Linked DNA regions of Homo sapiens: all the other regions are linked to region 7. Evidence: promoter capture Hi-C in 16 types of primary human blood cells and fetal thymus (Javierre and others, 2016). All regions are on one chromosome and are shown on one strand. Each heading gives the region's core, a stretch centred on a gene start or on the middle of the fragment in contact. The rest is flanking DNA. Distances are from core to core; before and after follow the strand shown. Region 1 overlaps YY1-DT (YY1 divergent transcript). Region 2 has its middle 31 kb from the start of DEGS2. Region 3 overlaps YY1 (YY1 transcription factor). Region 4 overlaps EVL (Enah/Vasp-like). Region 5 overlaps WDR25 (WD repeat domain 25). Region 6 overlaps WARS1 (tryptophanyl-tRNA synthetase 1). Region 7 holds the start of SETD3 (SET domain containing 3, actin N3(tau)-histidine methyltransferase).

Region 1 (3,017 bases), core at 293-2,792, 750 kb after region 7:
AAGGCTAAATACAGCCCTTTTATACTGAGCGCTCTGAGTTTATTCAAAATATTTACAGATCTATCACCTGATTTATTTTATCTACTCCTGTTTCACACAGATATTAACACTAAAAAAAAAGCCAAACACTGGGATGGGCACTTCTTGTTGTGTTCAACTTTCAAGTCACAGTTGAAATGTCCCTTTCTCATGAAGGCCTTTACCTTGCGAGGCTAGGCTAGATTCTCTGTCCCCAAACTCTCACTTCTTTGTAGGACTTCTATAAATGAATATTAGGTATGGGCTGGGCGCGGTGGCTCATGCCTGTAATCCTAGCACTTTGGGAGGCCGAGGCAGGTTGATCACTTGAGGTCAGGAGTTCCAGACCGGCCTGGCCAACATGGTGAAACCCCATCTCTACTAAAAATACAAAAAAATTAGCCGAGTGTGGTGGCGTATGACTGTAGTTCCAGCTACTCAGCAGGCTGAGGCAGGAGAATCGCTTGAACCCGGGAGGCAGAGGTTGCAGTGAGCTGAGATTGTGCCACAGCACTCCAGCCTAGGCGACAGAGAGAGACTCTGTCTCAAAAGAAAAAGAAATTTTTTAGATATGTATTTTTGAACTATCTGTTCACAGCCGAAGTCCCTCTGGCCTGTAGACTCTGTGAAGCCAGGCTTGCTTGTCTTGTTCTTGTTCACAGCTATATCTATCCTTTGGGCCTTGCACTGCAAGTGCGAGGTAAATGGTGACTGAACAGCTGGTCTCACCTAACTCCCTGTGGGGCGTCACTCCTTTCTGACAAACAGAAAAAAATTCCTATCAGAAAGGTTACTGCCCAGTTTCACAGAGAGGACAAGTTAACTCCCAAATCACATAAGCTCTTCCCACTCCACCACGCTCACCTGCCTCACACACACAAATACCTGAATCGACTTCCTGTATTTTCCACACTGCAATAAATGTGCTTCTGTGAAAACCAGTGTGGCTATGAAAGTTATCGTGGATTGGCCGGGCACGGTGGCTCACGCCTGTAATTCCAGCACTTTGGGAGGCCGAGGCGGGTGGATCATGAGGTCAGGAGATCGAGACCACCCTGGCTAACACGGTGAAACCCCGTCTCTGCTAAAAATACAAAAAATTAGCCAAGTGCAGTGGCGGGCTCCTGTAGTCCCAGCTACTCGGAAGGCTGAGGCAGGAGAATGGCGTGAACCCGGGAGGTGGAGCTTGCTGTGAGCTGAGATCGCGCCACTGCACTCTAGCCTGGGCGACAGAGCAAAACTCTGTCTCAGAAAAAAAAAAAAAAAAAAAAAAAAGGACGTTACCATGGATTAAAGAATTTCTGGCCAGGCTCACGCCTGTAATCCCAGCACTCTAGGAGGCTGATACGAGCAGATCCCTCGAGCTCAGGAGTTCAAGACCAGCCTGGGCAATTTGGCAAAACCCTGTCTCTACAAAAAATAGCTGGGTGTGATGATGCATGCCTGTAGTCCAAACTACTTGGAGGGCTGAGGAGGGAGGATCTCTTGAGCTGGGGAGGTTGACGCTACAGTGAACTGAGATCCTGCCACTGCACTCCAGCCTGGGCAATGAGTGAGACCCTGTCTCAAAAAAAAAAAAAAAAATTCCATTCTGTTTAATTGTGCATTCCATATTTGTTGGGATGGGTGGGCAGTAGGAGCAACTTCAGTACAATTAAGTTGATTTAGCTTCTTCTTTGGAGGGACGTTATACTAGCAAAGCAGAGAAAAACAGAGGCTAATCTATTACTAAAGATTTCAACTTTCTTTATATTTATGGGCAATAATCAGGTTCAATCATTGTAATAAACCACTTGGCCTAAGAAAAAGAATTTAATTAAGGTCTTATAAAAGGACATAAAATACTACATAAAGGGTGCCAGCTTTATAGACGTGAGATTTCACCTATTAACATATAGTTAGGAGGCTGGGTGCGGTGGATGGTGCCTGTAATCCCAGCACTTTGGGAGGCCAAGGCCGGTGGATCACTTGACATCAGGAGTTCAAGACCAGCCTGGCCAACATGATGAAAGCCTGTCTCTACTAAAAATAAAAACGAAATAGCAGGGCGTGGTGGTGCGTGCCTGTAATCCCAGCTACTTGGGAGGCTGAGGCAGGAGAATTGCTTGAACCCGGGAGGCGGAGGTTGCAGTGAACCAAGATTGTGCCACTGTACTCCAGCCTGGGTGGCAGAGTGAGATTTCATCTCAAAAAAACAACAAAAAAACCCCATATAAACATATATAGTATATAGTTAGGGGTCGGGTACAATGGCTTATGCCTGTAATCCCAGCACTTTGGGAGGCCAAGGCAGGTGGATTGCTTGAGCTTAGGAGTTTGAGACCAGCCTGGGCAACATGGTGAAACCCCGTCTCTACTAAAAATAAGAAAATTATCAGGGCATGGTGGTATGCACCTATAATCCTAGCTACTCAGGAGGCTGAGTCAGGAGAATCACTTGAGCCCAGAAGACAGAGGTTGCAGCAAGCAGAGATCACACCACTGCATTCCAGCATGGGTGACACAGTGAGACCCTGTCTAAAAAAAAAAAAACAAACAAACACAGGGTATTTCACCATAATTTAAACTCCAAATCTAATATATGCATTGATTTGGTGGGAAAGTATCCCTTTAATAGCTCAGGTTTCAAAGACTCCACAACCAAGAAGGTATCTATAGTTTAGACAGTTAAGAACATGTACATACCTAGTTTTTCATTTAACTTGGATCCAAACTAGGGGTAACTAATTTGGATGCATGCACAAAAATTTTCATTCTGATTTTTGTAAACATTTCATTGAAAACTGGGCGTGGATGTGAATTGGAACAGGATCACACTACTGAAACTTACATAGGTTTTGCAGTCTCACAAAAGGCAGGAAAGTCAAGCTCTCGCTTTTCACCTCAATCACTACCTTTTTACCACACCGCCATGTGACGTTGAGCACATCTCCTAGGTAGTTTCCTTGTCTGCAAAATGAAATGTGGACTAGATGCCCCATCTGGCTCTAACAGTCTCA
Region 2 (3,107 bases), core at 154-2,653, 710 kb after region 7:
CCCGGCACTTTAGGAGCCCGAGGTGGGCAGATCATTTGAGGTCAGAAGTTCAAAACTAGCCTGGTGAGCATGGTGAAACCCCACCTCTACTAAAAACACTAAAATTAACCGGGCATGGTGGTGGGCACCTGTAATCCCAGCTACTCAGGAGCCTGAGGCAGGAGAACCACTTGAGCCGGGGAGGCGGAGGTTCCAGTGAGCCAAGATCTCGCCACTGCACTCCAGCCTGAGTGATGGAGTAAGACTCTGTCTCAAAAAAAAAAAAAAATTCATGTTCGAATTTAATTCTCAATGTAGCAATATTGAGAGGTAGGGCATTTAGGGTGTGACTGGGTCATGAGGGCTTAGTGTGCCATTGGATTGACGGGTTATCATGAGAGTGGGCTAGCATGCTCAGCCCTCACCATGTGATACCCTGCACTGCCTCAGGACTCTGCAGAGAGCCCCCACCAACATGAAGGCCCTCACCAGATGTGGCCCCTCGACCTGGGACTTCTCAGCCTCTGTAACTGTAAGAAATAAATTCCTTTTTAAAATAAATTAGGCAGGGCTGGGCACCATGTCCCAGCGTGTAGTCCCAGCATTTTGAGAGGCTGAGGCAGGTGGATCACTTGAGCCCAGGAGTTCAAGACCAGCCTGGCCACCATGGTGAGGCCCCATCTCTACTAAAAATACAAAAATCAGCCAGGTGTGGTGGCACTGGCTGAATTCACGCCACTGCACTCCAGCCTGGGTGACAAGAGTGAAACTTCATCTCAAAAAAAAAAAAAAAAGGGCCGGGCGCAGTGGCTCATGCCTGTAATCCCAGCACTTTGGGAGGCCGAGGCGGGCAGATCACGAGGTCAGGAGATCGAGACCATCCTGGCTAACACGGTGAAACCCCGTCTCTACTAAAAATACAAAAAATTAGCCAGGCATGGTGGCAGGCACCTGTAGTCCCAGCTACTTGGGAGGCTGAGGCAGGAGAATGGCGTGAACCCAGGAGGCAGAGCTTGCAGTGAGCGGAGATCATGCCACTACACTCTAGCATGGGCGACAGAGCGAAACTCTGTCTCAAAAAAAAAAAAAAAGAATTATTAGTATAAGTCATCATGCAGCTTCATCTCTGTTTTGCTAATGTGAAAGTTGATCATACAACCAGGTTACTGTTGTCAGACCCAACTAAAACAGAGTTGAGAGGCCAGGAGGAAAAAGCACTGGGGTCACATAACATTGCTCCAAGAATGTCATTCTCTGCAAACCTGGCTGCTGAAACTGCCTGCTGTAACATGACACCAGTTTACCCACCTGTTACTGAAACAACCTGGTGCAACTCTAAGACTAGTTTTACCTGCGGCATCATCATTGCTCACCAGAGCTTGTCAGCTCCCCAAAACTTTACTAATAGCCATGAACTTCCTTTTAAAACAATGCATAATATTTCTTTTTTATAAAACCTCCAACCTTCTCTTTGTTCTTCAGACATACTGAAAACTACCTGGTCTGTTTATATGCCCCAAATTGCCATTCTTGCTTTTCAAATAAAACTTTTTCAATTTAGAGATTTGTCTCTATATTTTATTTCACTTCACACTTAGAAATTTCTTCTGGCCAGGCAAGGTGGCTCAAGCCTATAATCCCAGCGCTTTGGGAGGCCAAGGTGGGAAGATCACTTGAGCCCAGGGGTTCCATACCAGCCTGGGCAACATGGCAAGACCCCGTCTCTACTAAAAATATAAAAAATTAGCCAGCCATGGTGGCATGTACCTGTAGTCCCAGCTACTGGGAGGCTGAGGTGAGAGGATCACTTGAGCCCAGGAGGCAGAGGTTGCAGTGAGCCAAGATTGTGCCACTGCACTCCAGCCTGGGCAACAGAGCTAGACTCTCTCTCAAAAAAAGAAAAAGAAAAGAAAAGAAAGAGAAAGAAATAAATTTCTTCTGCCAGATACCTTAATTAATCAAGGTCGGCCTTCCATCAAGCCCTCAGGCATGTATGTAGTTCTACTCACATGCTAACCCATTAATTTATTAACCCACAAATGGATTAGTCTATTCTTTTTTTTTTTTTCTTTGAGATGGAGTCTCGCTCTGTCGCCCAGGCTGAAGTGCAGCGGCACGATCTTGGCTCACTGCAACCTCCGCCTCCCAGGTTCAAGCGATTCTTCCGCCTCAGCCTCCAGAGTAGCGGGGACTACAGGCGTGCACCACCACGCCCGGCTAATTTCTTGTATTTTTAGTAGAGACGGGGTTTCACCCTGTTAGCCAGGATGGTCTCGATCTCCTGACCTTGCGATCCACCCGCCTCAGCCTCCCAAAGTGCTGGGATTACAGGCGTGAGCCCCGCGCTCGGGCTGTCTTTTTTGTTTTTTGCTTTTTTTTTTTGAGACGGAGTCTCGTTCTGTTGCCCAGGCTGGAGTGCGGTGGCGCGACCTCGGCTTACCAAAACCTCTGCCTCCTGGATTTATATTTTATTCCTTTTTTTTTCTTGACTAGCTAAAGGAATAAAATATAAAATACTACACTCAATAAAATGATAACAGGCCGGGCGCGGTGGCTCATGCCTCTAATCCCAGCACTTTGGGAGGCTGAAGTGGACGGGTCACCTGAGGTCAGGAGTTTGAGACCAGCCTGGCCAACATGGTGAAACCCCGTGTGTACTAAAAATACAAAAAAATTAGCTGGACGTGGTGGCAGGTGCCTGTAATGCCAGCTACTCGGAAGGCTGAGGCAGGAGAATCGCTTGAACCCGGAAGGCGGAGCTTGCAGTGAGCCAAGACTGCGCCACTGCACTAGAGCCTGGGCAACATAGTGAGACTCTGTCTCAAAGGAAAAAAAAGAATTATAACTGGGGACAGACTTTTCTTCCCTTTTAGAGCTGACCTTCTCTGGGAGAGGCTATCACCAAGATAAATCGGTAAGGCTTAATTCCATGTCCAGTGTTTTTGGCAAAACCCTTGTTCCCGAGGGGGTGAGTGGCCTTCCCAGCAGGCTCTGCTGAATTCTGGAAGAGCCTGTTTCCAGAAACTTTGTTTTGTACATGTCTTGGCAAATGATCACCACCCCCCTCCCCCCACCACCCACCCACTTCCGAAGTGGTCTAGGGCTTAAGTCCAGATGCGGATGGGCTC
Region 3 (2,810 bases), core at 282-2,781, 790 kb after region 7:
AACCATCATGGAGGGGTGTGAGAGGGGTAAAACTAGGGACAAAAAGAAAATCTGTTTCCGAGATTTAAATTTATTCTCTAGTTTTTTTAGGAACGCTTAATTTCTCACCCCCCTACCACACACAGATCTATAGGGAATATTTGGAGAGAAAGTTTTGACAAAAGTCCAAAGCTTGATTCAGTGGAGAAGCAGGTAGGTAAGTTACCAAACCAGGAGGCTCTCTGGACAGTAATTTCACCTGGGGCTCTGCCAGACGGTTACCACATTACCAGGACTCTTGGTACAAATGAGAACTTCCAAGCCCCCATCCAGAAGTAGGGTAACAGTATGAGAGTATGTGGTGTTCCCATCTGTCCACCAGGCCCTAGGAGCTCTCTCCCCAAAGTAACTGGTGCTAATGGTTTGTCGTGTGTCCTTCCAGAGATATTTGATATTTAATATCTATAAATCTTGATTTAAAAGGACTCTTCTGTACCCTTTAAAATGATATATTTTAAAGATCATTCGTGTCAGTACTAATTGGACCCATTTCGTGTATAGAGATGGATATTTTAGGACACTCCTGTGTTCACCGCTTCTTTTTCATAAGGCACCTTCATCATCGCAGCAGCTGCCTTTGGAAATCTTCCCTTGCCTCTCACAAGGAGATTCATCTGATTGTCTGAGTTGATTTTTTGTGTTTTTTTAAAGGGTTTGGAGTTAAGAACAGGTATGTGAATCACACAGATCATAGTGCCATTCTAAGCTGCACCAGCTTATTAGCTATGAGACTGTAGGCGGCAACTCGATGTTTCTAGCCTGAGCATCCTTATCTGTAAGATGGGAAGAGTGCTTCACAGTCATTGGTACTTAGTGAATGCAAGTTGTCTCATCCTTTCTGCTTCATGGAAATGTATCATAATTTTAGTTTGGGTACCTATAAGGAAAGCATTTTAGGGACTATATGATTTATGCCAGTTGAGTCTACCCACTCCTACAAATCTGTCTGTCTCTCTTTTTCTTTTGATAAGAATGAAGCCAAGAAAAATTAAAGAAGATGATGCTCCAAGAACAATAGCTTGCCCTCATAAAGTAAGTAATGCTAGAGGGAGAGTGTTCATTAAACTGTTGATGAAGTTTTAGAGAGTTATAAGAAATTTGCACTTTTGTTTCTGCTTGTGATAATTTAAATGAAGCAAGGAATTAGAATCTTCGGTTTCTAAATCCAAGAGATGAAGTTTTGTTATTTAGTAAAGGCAACTTTTTAAATACTGTTAAATGGGATGACTGCAGGGAGCCGTTGCTTGATTACTGTGTGTTGACTCTACTGTTAGCGTTTCATTTCTTTTTGGATTATATTAACAAGTCCGTCTTAAGATCCTGGGTTGTGTCTCACCTATTGACCTTTATGGGAATGTAGGCTTGTAACTGAAATTTGAAAATTATTTTGGATGTTGCTAAAATAAGCCAAATAAAGACTTAATAATTGTGTGTGATTAGAGAGGCACTTAATTGTTTTCAAATGTAGTTAGTCTTTAAAATAAAAGGATAACCTGAAAAGTACTTTTGAGATATTTGTTGGGGGCTATTTTCAAACTTAATTGGATATGAGACTAACAGAAAAATCAAGTATCACATAGGTACAGAGAACAAAGTAGGAGAGATTGAGTGGAATAAAGAATGTTAAAAATGAACAATCGGAGCAGGCTACATTTAGTTTCACGGTCTCTTCCCTGTAATGACTGTGCACTAGCAAGTCCTTCCTGTTCTTTGTCAGCGTTCTTGATGTGGCGATTTGAAATGTAAACGTATCTCCATTAGGGCCGAAATAACAAGCATTTGAAAACAGTTAGGCTGGAAGTGCCTATGCCATCCCTTTAGCTTCTCTGAAGTTTTCTTTATAATGGACACATAATACTTGTACATATTTATGGGGTACCGTGTGATGTTTCAATGCATGTATACATTGTGTACCAGTTAAATTTTTTAAATTTCCATTTTCTAAATGGAAATTCAACCTAGGGGTAAAGGCGGAAAAACTGGGGCTTCCCTCTCCCTTCTGCCTGTGAGCTGTCTAGTGACTTGTGCTGTCCTTCTGTCATGCTGTCTTATCATTTCCCCATTCACTCCATTACTGGGCAACAACTGCAGAAGAAATTGTTGAGGACATGCTTCTCGAGCGCCACACATCCATCTGCCTTTCCCGCCCTGCACTGGTATCAATTTGCCTGCTTCTTCCTTTTCCTAGTGTCTCACAAAATAAATTTCTTCTGTAGTTGCCATTCCTTGGAGACCCTCTTGCTTCTTTCTCTGTCAAGAAGGGGAAAGAGGCAAAGAGAGAAGAGGGAACAGTAGGCGATGGAGAATGACAGTCCATTGTTGCAGCACAGAATATGGGGCCACCAAAGGTAGTGGTGGACTACCGTCATTTTAACTCCATTTGCTTAGCAGTGCTTCTGTTACTTCATTTTGGGGGACATAGTCGGGTGAGGTGGCTGTGGTAGAGCTGGAAGCCAGGGTGTTGGGTTCTATTCCCAGTTTGGCTACTACTAGTAGTGTGACCTTGGGCAAGTCTACTTAAAGACATCTCTAAGCCTCAGTTTCCTCATCTGTAAAACTAGGGTTTGCATTGAATGATGACTTTTTCAGCTGTCTGCTTTTTGTCTTAAATGATATTAATGTTCTACCGTAATACTAAGTAAAATTAAAATGGGGGGTTGGGGAGGTGGTTTTGTTTTAATATGTCAGTAAAGGCTGTTAAATGGTTGAATCCTTTCTAACAGTTTGCAATGTGAACTTCTAAGCTGCTTTCTCTGTTTTAAGGGCTGCAC
Region 4 (3,115 bases), core at 432-2,931, 590 kb after region 7:
GTTAATTTCGTTTCCTTCCCTGGTCTCTCTGTTGTCTTTGGTAGGCTGTGGGTTTTTCCGAAGCACGTACTATCTTCTAACGTATTATAGAACTTACTTGTTCTACTGTATACTGTCTTTACCCCTCAAGAATGTAAACTCCCAGAAGGCAGGGATTTTCGCCTATTTTGTTCAGTGGTGTATCCCCAGTGCCTAAAACATTGCCTGGCAATACACATTTATTGAACTGCTGGATTTAATTAACTACTTTGATATATGGTCCTAAAGATTCCTGTGCTACCAAAGTTGCTACTCAGTGGAGCTTCCTGGTGTGGCATGTTAGAGAAGAGACCAGAAAAACAGACATTTCACTTGCTGTCAGGTAGTGAAGGAGCTGTGGCTGCTTGGGCACAGTCATTACTGTTTATTCCACTGTGCTGCACATCTTGAAGCTGTAAAGATATAAGAAGTCTCGCACAGCCGGGGTTCAGCTTACAATCCTTCGCACCTAATTGTACGCCTTTGTGTGAGGGTTTGGAGGAGTCTCCAGGAACACCTGGTGTTTCCTTTCTCACAGGTATTTCCAGTCCTCACGGGCAAGTCAGAGAGTCCCAGAGGCAATTGAACAAGCCCTCAGAGATCACGTAGTCCGTTCACTCTCCATGGGAACCCGCACTTCCCTAGAGACCTGTAGCCAAATCATTTGGAGAGCTTCTGAAGCTTCTCTGCCTTCCTCTGTCTCAAAGAATCCCATGTGCCTCTAGTTGAGAAACATTCCTCTGGAGATTCTAGGTTATTCTCATGAGAATGTTACGATACTCAGGTGGGCTGGGGCAGAAAATGGATGAGAACTAGTGTAGTCCAATGGCTTTGCTTTGGTAACTGAACCCACAGAGGAGGAAAATAACAACAGCTCAGCTTTTCTCAGTGTTATACACCAACCATTACGCTAGTTACATGATATACATACTATTTAATTCTCATCCTTTGAGGTCTGGTATCACTATTGCCACTTTACAGATAAGAAAACAAGGGTTGGCCGGGTATGGTGGCTCACTCCTGTAATCCCAACACTTTGAGAGGCCAACGCAGGTAGATCACCTGAGCTGAGGAGTTCAAGACCAGCCTAGGCATCATAGTAAGACCTCCTCTCTTAAAAAAAAAAAAAAAAAGAAAGAAAGAAAATAAAATTAAAAAATGAAAATTAGCCAGATGTGATAGTGCATGCCTGAAGCCTATAGTCCCAACTTCTCAGGAGGCTGAGGTGGGAGGATTGCTTGAGCCCAGCAGTTCAAGCCTGCAGTGAGCTGTGATCACACTACTGCACTCCACCCTGGTGACAGAGCAAGACCCTACCTCAAAAAGAAAAGAAAACAAGGGCCTACAAAGTATCGTATTCCAGGTCACATTGTTGTCACTTGACGGAGCTTTTGATCTCTGAGAGGATCAAAATCTGCCCTCTCAGCTTTAACTTCTCAAAGCTAAACTTGTCCCAATTTGCAGAGTCAAGGGTAGAATCGAGGCCCTCCTGATCTCTATTTTGCAGTCTCCGTCATTCTGTGCTGTTAATACCACAAGAGACAAAAGAGACCTCGTCTGTCCTGTAGCACCCCGTGCCTGCGTGCGTATCTCTTGTCGATGCTCTGTCGGCTCAGGATCTCTCCTACCAGCCTAGAGCTCTTTCAGAGCAGGACGCTTGTGTTATGCATTCATGTTTGTCCCTGTGCCTAGTAAATAGCACAGAGTCCAAGTGGCTACTTGTGTCTTCAGGGGTGTTTGTAAGGGCAGAGCCGGGGTCTTCATTCCCAGGCTGTTGATTCATCCTTGGAGCTGAACATACTGTCCCAATCCTTGGCCCAAGCCAGGCCTCTACAGTTGTCCCAAGGCTGTGCTAAAACCTGTTCCACTTCACAAGTGATCAGAGTCACAGACTCTGGGGACACAAATTTTGAGATGAAGACACAGAGCAAAATATATAAATGTTTTTGAGGTTTGAGTAGCCTTAACGTCCACGTGGCTGTCAGATGGCTCCCCAAAGAAAGGGCTACGCCGGTGGCCTTGAAAGAGTATGGGAGATGCATATGAGACAGGGTCAGTCTAGGAATGTCAGACTCCCCCAACAGTTGGTTGGAGTGTTTTTCCAGATTGCACCAGACTTCACAGAGTAATGGAGACCAGCTGTCCAGGCATCTGAGAGGGTGACATCCAAGGAGAAAAGGCAAACGTCTTGATTGCCCATGATGTGGGCAACCAATTTGGATAGAAAAGAAGGTGTCAGGGTTTAACACTGAATGTAGACTTTATTTACCCAAAGCCTTTCTTTAATTCTAACACTCTCAAAAATGGGGCTCAGTCACCATTTGGGTTTCCCATGTTAATATGCAGAGAGCTAATTCATTGTCTTTCATTGCTGTAATGCAGCAGTTCTCAAAATGTACTCCAGAGATTGACCCTCCTAGGAGTCTGTAGATCAGAACTGTATTTATAATATTACTAAGACATCATTTGCCATTTCAGCTCTTGTCTCATGAATTCATGGTGGAATTTTCCAGAGCTATGTGATGTTTTGACATCATCACTGTGGCAGCTAATGAAATGTCTGCTTGTATATTCTTGTGTTTTAAAAAATTATTAGTTTTAATTTCAAATAAGGTGAATATGGATAGACTTAACCTACATAAAACAGAAGCTTTTTGGCATCCTCAATAATTGAGTGTAAAGGGGTTCTCTTGACCAAAAAAGTTTGAGAACTATGTGTGTAAAATAGTCAGTTGTATGGCTGCACTACAGACAGCAAGCATGGAATTGAAAATACCACCTGCAAGGTGGCGGTTCCCCCTGGTAGAGAGGAGGGGCTCTGGGTCTGGGAGGAGGATGCAGGCGTCACTTGAACTAAACAGCTTTATGACTTGCTGTCAGATTTCCTAGACTGTGTGGTGGGATCGTGGGAACCTACTTCTCACAGGCCTGAAGTACTTCACAATAAACATTTTAAGTCTACTTCATAGCATGAAACCTGTTTCACACCTGTGCCCATTAAGAAAAAAAAATGGCACCCTATAAATGATTTAATAATTACTAAGGGGAAAATATAGCTTTCCATTGGAGATCTGGCAGTCACCTCTTAACCAACCTA
Region 5 (2,824 bases), core at 70-2,569, 910 kb after region 7:
ATTAGTTTTGAAAAATTTACAGCTAGAGAAATTAAGTAAAATAAAACAATGACTCATAATTCTGCACCGCTGCTCTTTCCTGACGATCCCTTCCTCCCCTTGTCTGTGAACGTGCTTGTTTTTTTCATAGCTGTGATCCCAGCACGGATACCCTTTTATATACTCTTTTCATCTCCCAGTGAACTCTTTTGGCTTAACGTGTTTGAACACCCACTGCACGTAAAGGTAGAAATTCAGACTTTGATGCCTTTTTTTGAAGGAAAACATGTACGTGGCCTGCGTTAACCAAAAACACAACCAGCCGTTATTGAATGCTCCCATGTACAGAACCCTCTGCCAGGCACTGAGAGGGAGTCCCAAAGGAATAAGACCTTTGGGTGGGTGACAGAAGACCCACCAGGGACCTTCTGTACCTGTATGAAAACCTGCAGTTCTGAAACACAGAAGGTTTTTAAAGAAAATATATGAATTAGATGTTGTTTATTTGCTTTACAGAATAATTTGCTCTAGAAATTCTTTCAGTAACAAGCTTCCTTAAAATACTTTGAAAAAAAACCTTTTAATTTTTGACCATGAATGTAATAGATGCTTATTGTGAAAAACTTTAATGATGCAGGAAATATGAAGTATGAAGGAGAAACAGAAATCATTGATAACTCCCAACCCCAAGTCAGTGCCTCATTAACATGAGGGGCCTCCCTGGTCGGGGGCCCTACATTCCTATCTGTTTACATAATTGGGCTTATTGCATAGTATGTGCAGTTTTGAATTCTTCCTCTGCTGCCCAATCTTCTGTAACGTGTAAGGGGAATTTTTCTACCTTATTAAAAACTTTTCCCCAAATATATTTTTATAACTGTCTCAAGTTTCATACTTTGCTCCATCATTTCCATGTTGTTTCCTATAATTTCCTGCTTTTGTTTAAAAAATAATCAGTATTACAGTGAATATGGCTATACATAAATATTGTCTTTTTTTGCTGCCTTAATGCAGTTAAGATGGGCTTTGAGGCCAGGCGCGGTGGCTCATGCCTGTAATCCCAGCACTTTGGGAGGCCGAGGCAGGCGGATCACGAGGTCAGGAGATTGAGACCATCTTGGCTAACATGGTGAAACCCCGTCTCTACTAAAAATACAAAAAATTAGCCGGGCGCGGTGGTGGGCGGCTGTAGTCCCAGCTGCTCGGGAGGCTGAGGCAGGAGAATGGCATGAACCCAGGAGGCGGAGCTTGCAGTGAGCCCAGATCGCACCACTGCACTCCAGCCTGGGTGAAAGAGCGAGACTCCATCTCAGAAAAAAAAAGAAAAAGATGGGCTTTGATTTACACCCAGGCATTAGCTAAAGCCCTTGTGTGTGGTGAGAGTGGGACCTGATTAGATTGGCAAACCTTCAGTACCACTGTTGTACTCCTTGGCTCCCATGCCAAATCTTCTGCTTGGTAGCTGTGTGACTTTGGGAAAATCACTTAGCCTCTCTGATCCCCTAGTTCCTCACTGGTAAAATGGGGATAATTGGTAAATGGCCACCAATTAAGGTTGTTGCTGTAGAGCTGAAATGAGAAGATCCAGCCTAGTGCCTGACAAGGGAGAGGCTGAGGAAGCATGTTTCTGATTCCCCTGTACCTGTCTTGATTAGTTATAAAACAAAGTGTAGAAAAGACAAATCACCCAGAATCCTCCAACTTACTGTAACTCTTGTTTTTTGTGAATCTTTTCATTGTCTCTATGCACACGTTTTTAAAGCGTTTCAATCTCAGTGTTCTTGAGATAAATACTTTTAGAATCTAAAGAGTTTGAGGATTGTCTGTGCCAAGCCATTCATGCACTCCCTTTTCATGTACTGAACACTTGGCAGGTCTGTGTTGGAGAGCTGGTTCCCTGTCCCCAAAGTGGTCACATTTAAAGCATGGATGAGAGGATGGAGAGCGCTAGCCATTGCTGAGTGCTTACCATGTACTAGGCATGTTCTAAACGCTCCGTCTCCTCTTCATTACAGGCCTGAGAGGCCACTTCTGTCCTCATTCCCATTTTACAGATGAGGAAATTGAGGCACAGAGAGGTCAAGAGACTTGTCCGTGGTCACACAGCTAGTAAATGATAGAGGCAAGCAGGGAAGCTTCAGACTCAGAGCCTGAGCAGAAAGAGCTACCACCACTCACGCTGCCCTCCTGCCTCTGAGAATAAGGGATGGAAAAGCGCATCCCCTTCACCCAGGTGGTGTCCAAGCTCTATCCCAGCTTCCAAATTTTGTGGTTCTGTTAAGGGACATACAGAGAAGAGATGATTTCTGGGGTGGTTTGGATTTGCATTTTTATGTATCACAGGATCCTGTTGATTTATCATTGTTAGTGAATCTGATTACATTAAGATATCTTAGATGTGCTTTGTAGAAAGTGATCTATTTCACATTCAAAGACAAGGGATTTATGGCTCTAAGTGCCAGAGTGAGGGTTTATTTCAGTTTTGAAAGAATTATTCTTGATGGATTTTACAAAATGAGATTGAGAAATGATTTGATGTGTGGAGTGAGGAGTTGTGGAGCATTATGCAGATGATTGGCAATTTATTCTAAGCACGAGGCAAATCTATTGGCAATGAGAGGCGCAGCTGGGAAGGAGGTTTGGGTGGTGGTAGTGGGCCTTTGGTATTTGGGGAGTGAATGATTAACAGTGCATCCAGGGTAATTAGATGAAGGTGAGGAGAGAATTGGTGATGTGTGTGTGCGCATGTGCGTGCATGCATAGCGTTCATCTGGTTCATTTGATAGAGGCCCATAGAGGGGAAGACACGCCCGAGGACACACAATAGGTGTTTGGATGCTTCCTA
Region 6 (3,052 bases), core at 4-2,503, 880 kb after region 7:
CTGTGTTTCAAACTACAAAATTATCTGAGACTCATCATTAAAATGAGCCAGATTTGTGGAATCAGTAACCCAATGGATACGATTCATAGATGAGATGTTTGCCCAGGTTAGATAGTTAAGTATGTTCCACCCATCTCATTTCTGTAGTACCTAGGCTCAGTACTTGCAAAAAATAACAGTTTAGTACGTATAATCTATCCAATTATCTATGGGAAGGCTTACCTTGCTTTGAAGTACACTGCAGTCAATATCACTTAATAACTAGCTTTGTTGACATTTCATACTCTATCTGGTCTAATTCTGCTTGTAACTAGGAGGCTCTGCGAAAGTCAAACATTTAACCAATGTCCCTGCTCAAGGACCATCTGCATTTTGGAATAGCACCAAAATAAGACAAGCAGGCTTACCTTGTCTATTTTCTTATAATCAGTCTTAATCAGTGTCTGAACCAGGACACTGAAACAGGATTCAAAAGCTGATGTTAGCTGGGTGCAGTGGCTCACACCTGTAATCCCAGCACTTTGGGAGGCCAAGGCGGGCGGATCGCCTGAGCTCATAAGTTCGAGACCACCCTAGGCAACATGGCAAAACCCTGTCTCTACCAAAAATAGAAAAAATTAGCCAGGTGTGGTGGCACACACCTGTGTTCCTAGCTCATCGGGAGGCTGAAGTCAGAGGATTGCTTGAGCCAGGGAGGCAGAGGTTGCAGTGAGCCGAGATTGCACCACTGCACTCCAACCTGGGTGATGAAGTGAGATCCCCACCCCACAAAAAACCCAGAACATCAGTTTTTTTTAGACAGGGTCTCACTTCAGTCTCCTGAGTAGCTGGGACTGCAGGTGTGTGCCACCATGTCTGGCTAATTTTTAAATTTTTTGTAGAGACAGGGTCTCACTATATTATCCAGGCTGGTCCCAAACTCTTGGCCTGAAGCGATCCTCCTGCCTTGGCCTCCTAAGTGCTGGGATTATAGGCATGAGCCACGGAGCCTCGCCAAAAGCTGATGTTCAGAAAAAAAAGCCAGACACAAGACTGTATTACATACAGTTCAAACCCAGGTAGAGCTACCCCTGGTGGGAGGAGTCATGGCAGAGGCTGAGGCGCGTGAGGGTGGCTTCTAGGTGCTCTCTGCTTGCTGTTGATTTGGGTGCTGGTTACACAGGTGTGGTCATTTTGTGAAAATTCAGTGAGGTGCCTGCTTGTGCTTATGATCAGCATGTTTTTCTATATGAATGGTATATTTTGATTTTAGAAGTTACTTAAACAAAAAGGAGAAGAAGAAAAAGGCTCTGCTCTCTTTCTTAATACCTAAGACCTAGCATTGCTTCTTTAGTCCTGCTCAAACTATTTCCCCTCACAGCCCTCAGATGCTGACTTATTTCCCCCTAGGAAACTTGCCGCTTTAATGAGCTGCTGCTACTGAAGGATGTGGATCTTATTCTTTAGATACACTGGAGCAGAAAAGACCTTCAAGGTCCATGGCCTAGATAAATGGCAGGAGAAGAAAGAGCTCAAGGTGCCCTCTCTTAGAACTGGCACTCCCAATGTGGCTCACACTATTTTGCTAAAAGTTAATTTTTAAAATTTCCAAAACATCAAGTGCTTCTACTACCAAGACATTTCAGGGTCAGATACAAATGTACTTCTGAATTTTTCACCACTTAACTCTGGTCTCATTGTGCAACCTCTGATGTCTTCAACGTGTGCCAGCCAATTGCATTAGTCAAATAATACACTTGGAAGAGTTATTATAAAATGTATTAAGTTGACTAAAATAATGAACATAACTGCAGTCACTAAGAATTACTAACTAAAAACATTTACTAAATGTTATTCAAATTTAATATTAAATGGACAAAAATACCACTGTCAACTTCCCAAAATGATGGGCTTACATAACCCCACTGGGTCTTTTATTTATTTTATAATTTTGTTTTAAAACAACTTGGTTTAATCGTTTGAGGCCTACCTGGTGAGTAAATCTCTTTCTGTAAAAAAGTAACTTTTTTTTGACATTACTTTCTTTCAGTACTATTTATTTCATTTAAAATATGAGCTGGGTGCAGTGGCTTGCATCTATAATTCCAGCAACTTGGCAGGCTAAGGTGGGAGCCCAGGAGTTTGAGGGTGCACTGAGCTAGGATTGCACCACTGCACTCCAACGTGGAAAGAGCGAGACCCTGTCTCAAAAAATACACACACACACACACACACACACACACACACACACACAAATAATGATTTAAATCAGGGTCCCAAATAGTCAAAGTAAACTACTGGGGAATGTGAGATGGTTGACACAATCTGGTGACAAGCAAGGTGTTTGAAAAGATAACAGATAACAGGAGTTAAAAGTGTCGGAAGTCGGGCCGGGCGTGGTGGCTCACACCTGTCATCCCAGTACTTTGGGAGGCTGAGGCGGGCGGATCACCTGAGATCAGGAGTTCAAGATTAGCCTGGCCAACATGGCAAGACCCCCTCTCTACTAAAAATACAAAAATTAGCCGGGTGTGGTGGCGGGCGCCTGCAGTCCCAGCTACTTACGAGGCCAGGGCAGGAGAATCGCTCGAACTCAGGAGGCAGAGGTTGTAGTGAGCCAAGACTGTGCCAGTGCACTCCAGCCTGGGCGACAGAGTGAGACTCAGCCTCAAAAAAAAAAAAAAAAAAAAAGTGATGGAAGTCATGGAGAAGCCGGAGTGGAGTCACCCCAGAAGGAAATGAAATGCTTATGTTCTAGTTAAAGATGCGTATTGATGATGATATTTCTGAAATCTACTACAACAAAAGCAGAGATCTTCTTTTTTTTTTTTTTTTTTAAAGCATAATCCCACAAGGACAAAGGAAACAAGAAGAGGATGACAGCAACAAGGTTTCAGAAGCCAGAAAGCTGATGAATGATCAGTGCCTAACAGCATGAGAGAAAAACAAATGCTAAGACATCATGGAAATACTGGAAGGTGACCGAGTGTACACTGTTACGGAATCACCCAAAGGTTCGGGCCTTAGTGACCTTGCGCACTTACAGGAGTGGGGGCAGGAAAGCGGGTTATGA
Region 7 (2,775 bases), core at 168-2,667:
GTCTTGGCAAATTTTAACAGTGGAGAGGAAGACTGCTTTATTTTGCTATATTCTTGGGTTAAATGTATTCGCTTAAAATAATAAACACTTCTCCGAGATTATTACTGGTTAGTTCAGTTTTGAAATACTGGCAAGGTCATTTCAAGAAGAAAAACGGGAGAGGGAGAGGTATATTTTACATAAGATAAAATTCACACTTTTCAGTGTCCGGTTCTGAGTTCTGACAAACGCATTTATAGTGGCCTCATCAGCACCACAATCAGGCTACGAAGATGGGGTAACTCTTCGAGGATTCTTAAAAGCAAAATTGATTTGTCAGCATACTTTAAAAGTATTTTTGCTTTTGAAACATCACCTTATTTATTTAGAAAAGCAAAATAACACGGTCCGAGTGGTCCTAACCCGCGAATGCCTTTGCAACACTGAAATGCCCTCCTCCCAACACCGGCCGGGCAGGGGTGAGCCCCGCAGCCAGGGGCGCGCGTCACTGTCAGCTCCTTTTCCCAAGTGGAGACCGGGAAAAGACAAGAGTTGCATCGCCGGGCTGGAGCCACGAGGAGGAAGAGTTAACGCCGGAATGACAAACTCTAAAGCACCGAATTGCCTCTCCCTAGTAGGGCACTGCGCGTGTGGAGCACGGCCAGGGGCGCGTGGGAAGAAAGACGACCTATTTCCTACGTCCGTCTTCCTAACTGGACGGCGCGGGAGGAGGCGGGGGCTGGTCCCCGGGCACCCTGGTGGGCACCGAGAACTCGCAGAGAGGAACATAAAACCGCACAGCCTTCCCCGAGCAGCGGGGTGACGGGAGGAAGGAAGGAAATGGGAGCGCGACCCGGCCGCGCGCAGAGCCGAGCCGACTAGCGCGAGGGGCCCGGGCCCCACCCGAGAGCAGGCGCGAGGGCCGGGGACAGCGGGGCAAGCTCGGGGAGAGCGCTGCCTGCACCTGGCACCACCTCGAGACCGGGTGGCGCGGGGCCCGGGAGCGTGGGCGCCAGAGGGGACAGGGCAGCGGCGAGCGCGCGCCTCTCGCCCCGCAGGGCGCCCGGGCAGAGGCCGACCGGCGCCCTCCGACCCCGCCGGGCCCTCCTCGCCCTGGCCCCCGAGCGCACACCTGCCCCTTCAAGCCCCGGGGCCACAGCGGCCGGCGGGGACCCTGGCGGGGGCGCGGGCCGGACTTCGGCCGAGGGGCGCTGGCCAGGGCGAGGGACGGCCTCGCAGAGCTCGGAGACGCGGCGCGAGTTTCCCCCGCGGGCCGCGCGGGCGCAGAGACCGCCGCCAGCACTCACCTGCCCGCTTCCCCTAGCGCAGCGGGAACGACGTACTCCGGCCCGGACCCCGCCGTCCGCCTCAACCAACCCCCAGGCGGTGGCGGCGGTGGCGGCGGCGGCGGCCGGACGGGAGGGGCGGGACGGCAGCCTGAGACGGCCCCGCGACCGCGGCCCAACGCTTCTCCTCCCGCCCCGGACCCCGCCCCCGGGCCGCAGCCGCCGCCGTTCATTGGCCCACGCTTCGGACGCATGGGCGCGGCCCCGCCCCGCCACCCAGCCGGCGTTCCGTTCGGGGTCCTCCCCAGCCAGTGGGCTGGCAGCTCCCGGGGGCAAGAGCGGCCGGCTCAGCCGCCGCCAACCACGATGTCGCAACTGGCTGCGTTCGCCCCCGCCAGAGCTTTGATTGGACGAATCTCGACCCGGGCCCCGCCTACGCGCCCAAGTTCCGTTAGCAGGTTCGGTTGCTCCAGAATGCCTTTTCGCCCCGAGGGGCGGGACCGACGGGATGGGCCCTGTGGCTGGCTCCTCCCTCTGTAAGCAGCAGCCACTGACCCGCGGGGCGGGCGGGGAGGAGAGCGGCGGCTCGTTCCTCTTTTGAGAGCTCTGCTTTCTTCCCATTGGTTGACAGGCATCCTACTCTCTCCGCCCCTCCGGTCGCTTGGTGGCGTCTCAGGACGCAGCGTGATGACGTAGGTCCCCGACATTCCATATACAAGATGGCCGCAGTCGGCAAGGAGAGACGTCGCTGAGGGGCTTGCCTGAAGCGAGGGGTGAGTGACCCACCGACTGAGGGCAGCGCCGCCCACCTCCCGCGTATCTGGAGGTCGGAGTAGGTTATGGCCAACCGCCGCTATCCACTGGCGGAGTCTCTCTTTCCGGATTCTGCCTCCCTCCGCTAACCTCCGGTACACATTGAACTTTGCGGGCGACGCGGGGTTGTGGGGCGGGCGTGTAGAGAGGGTCTGAGGCGCCGGGGCGGGGCAGGGAGGCCGGACTCACCCTAGAACTGGTAGCGGCCCTCGCACTGGGGGGCAGTCAGAGTTGGGGAACTTTCTAGGGGTTGGGCAAAAGGGGCAGCGGTGTTAACCGCGCACAGTCTCACAGCCACAGACTTCTCATATCTCCCCGATTATTTCGCGGCGTATTAGTCCCAACCTTGGCTAGGCCTGAAACTTTTTGGAGGTTGTTCCATGTCTAGGGTACTCCGACTTTGGAGTTTTGGAGAGCCACGTAACGAGGGTGCGGCTAAGATGAGGAAAAGGCACTTCCGGGATTAGATTTCGTTCTTGCCCAGACATCGTCTTTACGGACCCGCTCCTGGTGGTTGATTTGGTTTGTTATGAGAGAAATTGTTCTTTAGAAAATTGGAGCGTAAGTCTAGAGGTTATGTGACAGCTCCTAAACGATTGTCTGCCCAAGATAGGCTCGGTAATGCTCCCTAAATTTAGACTGCCAGTTAAACGGAGCTTTCGCTAAGTCATCTGAGGTTAGGAACTATTTCTAAGAG

What was found. Contacts are between HindIII fragments. The CHiCAGO score rates a contact against its expected background, and 5 or more counts as called.
Region 1: a contact is called between a fragment that was not itself captured here and the fragment with the promoter of SETD3 in region 7, in 1 of 17 cell types (neutrophils). The highest score is 5.7, in neutrophils.
Region 2: a fragment that was not itself captured here is called in contact with the fragment with the promoter of SETD3 in region 7 in 1 of 17 cell types (neutrophils); the score reaches 7.3 in neutrophils.
Region 3: a contact is called between a fragment that was not itself captured here and the fragment with the promoter of SETD3 in region 7, in 1 of 17 cell types (neutrophils). The highest score is 5.3, in neutrophils.
Region 4: a contact is called between a fragment that was not itself captured here and the fragment with the promoter of SETD3 in region 7, in 3 of 17 cell types (M1 macrophages, total B cells and M0 macrophages). The highest score is 6.6, in M1 macrophages.
Region 5: a contact is called between a fragment that was not itself captured here and the fragment with the promoter of SETD3 in region 7, in 3 of 17 cell types (naive B cells, neutrophils and monocytes). The highest score is 5.7, in naive B cells.
Region 6: a contact is called between a fragment that was not itself captured here and the fragment with the promoter of SETD3 in region 7, in 1 of 17 cell types (neutrophils). The highest score is 6.6, in neutrophils.

The regions. Positions count from the first base shown.
Region 1 is chr14:100,231,765-100,234,781 of GRCh38, forward strand. The region is part of intron 1 of YY1-DT (YY1 divergent transcript); the gene reads right to left. Among named protein-coding and RNA genes, the nearest start is that of YY1-DT, 5.3 kb to the right of the region's middle. RefSeq lists enhancers at 561-1,061, 1,062-1,562. The HindIII fragment of the contact is 5,151 bases long and covers 1-3,017 here.
Region 2 is chr14:100,189,043-100,192,149 of GRCh38, forward strand. No RefSeq gene overlaps it. Among named protein-coding and RNA genes, the nearest start is that of DEGS2, 31 kb to the left of the region's middle. The HindIII fragment of the contact is 4,292 bases long and covers 1-3,107 here.
Region 3 is chr14:100,273,688-100,276,497 of GRCh38, forward strand. YY1 (YY1 transcription factor) reads left to right here. Exons shown (of 5, transcript NM_003403.5): 3 at 1,011-1,071; 4 at 2,803-2,810. Among named protein-coding and RNA genes, the nearest start is that of MIR6764, 2.3 kb to the right of the region's middle. The HindIII fragment of the contact is 2,725 bases long and covers 170-2,810 here.
Region 4 is chr14:100,068,929-100,072,043 of GRCh38, forward strand. All of the region lies in intron 1 of EVL (Enah/Vasp-like), which reads left to right. Among named protein-coding and RNA genes, the nearest start is that of EVL, 5.1 kb to the left of the region's middle. RefSeq lists enhancers at 1-644, 1-89, 250-299. The HindIII fragment of the contact is 1,969 bases long and covers 698-2,666 here.
Region 5 is chr14:100,385,603-100,388,426 of GRCh38, forward strand. All of the region lies in intron 2 of WDR25 (WD repeat domain 25), which reads left to right. Among named protein-coding and RNA genes, the nearest start is that of WDR25, 11 kb to the left of the region's middle. The HindIII fragment of the contact is 1,585 bases long and covers 528-2,112 here.
Region 6 is chr14:100,362,931-100,365,982 of GRCh38, forward strand. All of the region lies in intron 2 of WARS1 (tryptophanyl-tRNA synthetase 1), which reads right to left. Among named protein-coding and RNA genes, the nearest start is that of WARS1, 11 kb to the right of the region's middle. The HindIII fragment of the contact is 5,176 bases long and covers 1-3,052 here.
Region 7 is chr14:99,479,442-99,482,216 of GRCh38, forward strand. SETD3 (SET domain containing 3, actin N3(tau)-histidine methyltransferase) reads right to left here and starts at 1,418. Exons shown (of 13, transcript NM_032233.3): 1 at 1,287-1,418. CCNK (cyclin K) reads left to right here and starts at 1,968. Exons shown (of 11, transcript NM_001099402.2): 1 at 1,968-2,038. RefSeq lists enhancers at 549-1,050, 1,859-2,228 and silencers at 899-1,098, 1,209-1,668. The HindIII fragment of the contact is 7,554 bases long and covers 1-2,775 here.